Regions from separate parts of the Homo sapiens genome. Here region 1 is linked to region 2. Evidence: promoter capture Hi-C in human tissues and cell types (Jung and others, 2019). All regions are on one chromosome and are shown on one strand. The core of a region is centred on a gene start or on the middle of the fragment in contact, and the rest is flanking DNA. Distances in the headings are between cores, read along the strand shown. Region 1 has its middle 8.4 kb from the start of OR10K2. Region 2 holds the start of CD1C (CD1c molecule).

Evidence for each region. The method cuts DNA at HindIII sites, captures the fragments that hold promoters and counts their contacts. A contact is called where the count stands out against the background at its distance.
Region 1: a contact is called between a fragment that was not itself captured here and the fragment with the promoter of CD1C in region 2, in 2 of the 25 tissues and cell types used here (spleen and thymus).

What each region holds. Positions count from the first base shown.
Region 1 is chr1:158,433,304-158,436,003 of GRCh38, reverse strand. No RefSeq gene overlaps it. Among named protein-coding and RNA genes, the nearest start is that of OR10K2, 8.4 kb to the right of the region's middle. The HindIII fragment of the contact is 5,463 bases long and covers 1-2,700 here.
Region 2 is chr1:158,288,622-158,291,321 of GRCh38, reverse strand. CD1C (CD1c molecule) reads right to left here and starts at 1,399. Exons shown (of 6, transcript NM_001765.3): 1 at 1,197-1,399; 2 at 1-188. The coding sequence starts at 1,257. It also overlaps a transcript of CD1B not described here. The HindIII fragment of the contact is 10,692 bases long and covers 1-2,700 here.

The sequences.
Region 1 (2,700 bases), core at 175-2,674, 140 kb before region 2:
ATAGAAGTTCAGAATAATGGTTTCTCAGGCAAGAAAGTGGGTAATGTTCTACTTCTAAATTTCATTGTGGATTGGTGTGTGTCACTTTGTGAATCCAGGTACAGACTTTGATTTGTGTACTTTTGTGTATGTTACACTATAATAAAAGTTTCTTAAAATTTAGGAAAGAATCAGATTGAAAGGCTAAATTGAAAATACAAAGGCAAAGGAATAATGGACAATTTCTAGTTTATGGATATAAATTGTTAGTTTAATATACAAAACACTATTGTTTTCTAATTGTTTCTTACTCCATAAATATATTAAAACTCCATGAGGACAAGAACTGTATCTCATTTATCTTTACAACCCCAGAACTATCAGAATAGTCTAAGTCATAGAGTAGTTATTCAGTAAATACATACTTAATAAAATGTTTAACCTTCTGTTTATAGCAAAAGTATCTAACAAATAAATGAATAAATACATTTCTACAATGATTTTGATTATTTTTATAATCGATTATCATGTGTCAGTTACTTCCTATTTTGAAAAATGAACTTATACCAATATCCATTTGTATGCTGGCATTAGGCATTTCTCTCTGTTATTTTTCACAACCTGCCCTCAACCTAAAAACACACTGGGGGCCTGGCTATGAGCCATCTGGTCCACAGCCCAGAGACAAAATTGAACTTCAGAGATCTGACACTTAGAATGGATTACTTATTTCCTCCTCTCCTCTCCTTTTCAACTATTCCCATTTCAGGCTGAGACTTATCCTGACTGTGCAGGAGGACGAATATAGAGGATGTGGAAGGAGAAAAACTGAGCAAAAGAGGGATATTTGGCTTTCATCCTTTTAGTTCTTCTTGGAGAGATGCCTGTAGAGCAAGGAAGTGAGATAGGTCTCTGAAATTCAGACCACGAAAAAGAAGAACAAACAAAGATGTGAAGGAATGCCAGGCATAATTTTAAAAGAAGGAACTATTGAGAAGAGAAGAGAAAAATAAGGTGGGTGGTATGGAAATGTCAGGTGATTTTGAAATGCTCTTTGGAGCAAAATAACAGAAGTTGAAGTTATTCAGTTCAAGGGCTGCAGAACCACACTCTTGTGTCTGTTTTACGGAAGGGAGAGGAAATATGGGTAAATGGGCTGGGATGTTTGGAAATAAGTCACAGTAAGTCCTCATGTCTTGTCCTTTGTCATCTCGAACTCCTGAGGCCCTGAAGAGGTTGGAGAGTGGGAATTGTACTAGGGAAGGTCTGGACAATCTTCATCCAGAGTAATGATTCACATAAACCAGACATCTGGGTGGGCTGAGGCAAGATAAATAAACCTATGCTTTTCACTTAGGCTATAAATCTGATATTTAAGGTGTGGTACAGCCACATTATTTCATAGTACTTCTTCCGTTCTACTCAGATATCCAATAACTACTTAGGGTTTCATTAATATGGCCAACACTTCCCTATTAGAAATCACATTCCTCGCATGTTTTATACCTGTGAACAACATGACTTTTACATATTTATATTGTCTATTGAATTAGCTAGTGTGAAATTTGCTGTTTAATTTTTGGTCTAAAATTTAGTAAATAAATTGGGCCTCATGGAATATATTTCTATGTCATGAGTCCTCCAAAATTCACCTTATTAGTACATCATTACTTTACCTTTGCCCTAATTTGTTAACATATCTATGTAATATGTTTATTCTTGCCTTAATAGTACCTATTTTAAATCATCTCAAATCCTTTCTGAAATGAGATATGTTCTTATTATTTAGGAATTTTTGGGTTGTAAATAACAGATAATCCAATTCAAACTGGCACTAGCAAGCAATAAATCTATTGTCCCACATAAGCTAAGAAATCTGGTGGTATAATGGTTTCAGGTACAGCTTGATTCAAAGTTCAAACTATTATCTGGATGCATCTCATAGAGCTGCTTCTTGTGACTTGGTTCTATTTTTAGGCTAAACACAGTAGTCTCGATACTTTCAGCTTATAAAATCTAGTCAAGAGGAAGAGAGAATTTGTTTCATCAGATGTTAAAATAAGCATCATTAGATGGAATTTTTTTGCTCCTGATTGTCCAGAATTGGAGCATATGCCCATCCTTAACCTGATATTTTAGCAAAGAAACTCCAATGTCCTGACCACCTGAGTTAGTGCATGGCACCTATTGCTCTCTGAAACTTTAGGATGAAGCAATTAGATGAGACTGGAGACAAAACAAACCAAAATAAAGTTGGGCCACTATTAGGATAAGTAGTGGGAGTGAACCACAAAAACCAAATGTCCAGCATTTTGGTATGTTAAATGCCACTCTTCTTGCTTCTTACTTCTCTGGGCATCATTTGTTGCTCTCAGTAACATTTTTGTTTTTGGTATCATTATTTCTTCATCAACCAGATTATTGGTGAGCTCTTACTAATCACCGAAGTATTGTTAGAAGTCCTTAATACCCACTGACATAGGGATGGAAAGTGATGTTGAAATTATATTAATTAGGTGGCTGGCAAGATGGCTGAATAGGAACAGCTACAGTCTACAGCTCCCAGTGAGATCAGCACAGAAGGTGGATGATTTCTGCATTTCCAACTGAGGTACCTGGCTCATCTCACTGGGACTTGTTAGACAGTGAGTGCAGCCCACAGAGGGTGAGCCAAAGCAGGGTGGGGCATTGCCTCACCTGGGAAGGGTAAGGGGTTGGGGA
Region 2 (2,700 bases), core at 150-2,649:
GTCTGACAACTCTTCATTGCTGAAGTTGCCCTTGGACCAGTTATGCAGGAAAATTATTGTGCCTGATTCACTGTCCCAGCCATGAGTCTGCAACTCGTCCAGCCATCCTGAGCCCTGACCTCGTGCCCAGGATTGGTTGACAAATGAGAAGATCTGGATGACATGGAAGGAGACGTGTTCCTGGGATGCTTTTGGTGGAAGAAGGGCAAGTAGTGTAAGGAAAAAAAAAAAAAGAGAGGCAAGGAAAATGGAGAGAAAATGGAAGGTGAACCAGTTACCACAGAGAAACATTAATGACTACTTTAGCTATACCATTTTCCTTACACAGAGCCCCATGCTCTGCCACCATCCTCTAAAAGAGTAAACTGGACCTGGAGAGAGGTATGCTCAAATGGCAACCATTCTGGCTTCTTCATTGATCCATCTTGGGAAAGCCCATCATGCTCAACCCAGATACATGTAACCTTGCAGCTGACAGAGATGTTCATACTATCTGCATTGTCACCACCGGGGAGGAGAAGAACTAGCAGCGGAAACTACAGAAACAGCATGTCATTTGCAGTTGTTTCCTTCTCTCAGAAAAGCCATTTGCTGATCTCTGTTCTTAGCAAACTTATCCCTCTACATCTATATTCTGACTTCCTTCTACCAACAGACAATCTTCCCCATCAGCCACTGACAGCAACTAAGACAATCTGCTTCCCTTAACCTTAGGCCTCCTACTCAATCTCTCATTTCCCCATCTGCTCTGAACTAAAGTTACTCTCTTCCCTTAGGATTTTAGCTGCTCTCCCACTAAGCTCCATCTTATCTACTTCCCTTCCTCAACTGCCTTAGACAAAGTGGTGCGTGGCATTGAAAGGTTGCTTCATCCCTCTGGACCTTGCGTGTCATTTGTAACATAAAAAGGAGAAACCACATCATTTTCCTGGGCCCTGATTGTTTTAACGGAAAATGGAGAGGAAATGGAAATTGAACCAGTTACCACAGAGAAACATTAATGACTACTTTAGCTATAACATTTTCCTTACACAGAGCCCATGCTCTGCCACCATCCTCCAAAAGAGTAAACTGGACCTGGAGACAGGTATGCTCAGATGGCAAGCATTCTGGCATCTCTATTGATCCATCTCGGGAAAGCCCAGCACACTCTACCCAGATACATGTAACCTTGCAGCTGACAGCGATGTTCTTACCGTCTGCATTGTCACCACCTGGGAGAAGAAGAGCTAGCAGCAGAAACTGCAGAAACAGCATGTCATTTGCAGATGTTTCTTTCTCTCAGAAAAGCTGTTTGCTGATCTCTGTTCTTAGCAAACTTATCCCTCTGTACCTATATTCTGACTTCCTTCTACCAACAATCTTCCCCATCAGCCGCTGACAGCAACTAAGAAGATCTGCTTCCCTCAACCTTGGTCCTCCTACTCAATCTCTCATTTCCCCACCTGCTCTGAACTAAAGTTATTCTCTTCTCTCAGGATTCCAGCTGCTCTGCCACTAAGCTCCATTATATCTACTTCCCTTCCTCAACTGCCTTAGACAAAGTGGTGTATGGCATTGAAAGAAAGGTCATTTTGTCCCTCTGGATTTTGCATGTCATTTGTAAGATAAAAAGGAGAAACCATGTCATTTTTTCAGTTCCTGCTTGTTTTAATAGATCACAGTTCTTCCAGTTTCTCCACTTAACTTTGCCTCCACTCTCCATAGTGTCCCCTCTTCTCATCACTCCATTCTTTCTTTCCCCCTTTTGAATGTCCTCAAAGTTTTCTCTTTCCAATTTCACCTCTTTTCACCCATCTTTCTTATTTCCTCATTCTCACTGATTCTTTTATAAATTGGAGACGTTGCTTTTTACATCTTCCAAGATTTCCCTGCACAATTATATAAACTACAGTCCACTCTACATTATCCTTAGAGATTAAATTGCAGCCATTCAGAATGCATAGGACCATAACAAATATAAAGAAGCCCTTCTACTGCATTTAATCTGTATAGTCATTCACTAAAAAATTACATAGTACATGGTTGATACCAGTGTCTTACTAGGCATATAAACACACAGAGGTTAACAATGTAATCTCTTCTATCAAAGAGTTTTAAACTGCAGATGTTTAAACAAAAAATTAAAATGCATTGTGATTTTAATTTCAATGTATAGAATCCCAGATACAAATCTACTTAGAACTATATTCTCTAGAGCAGCATTTTGACTGACTAACCCCCTGGGAAGTTCATAATTTGAAGTCCTGGAAGAACAGCATGCATCTCAACTAAATACTGAAAATTCTGTACAGTGTGGAATGGTATACGATTGTGATAGTCAGAACATGCAGCTTTTCAAGAGGACTCATACATGGGGAGACCACAAAAATCCAAATTTAAGTTGTTTTGTGATCTGACCAAAACACATTGTATAAAAAGGGCAGCATTTGTCAATGTTTGATTTAAGTAGTTTATATGAAGTATTCAGTGACTTATCAGTGACCCTGGCTGGTTAATATGTGTAAATACATGAACACAGTTTTTTTGAGATCCAGGAAATACATTTATTATTATAGTGTTTCTTAAATCATATTAATTATTCACTGAATGCATTGGAGCAGTCACTTAAAATCTGGGCATGAATTTGTGCTAGGCACAATGACTCATGCCTGTAATCCCAGCACTTTGGGAGACCAAGGTGGGAAGATCACTTGAGCC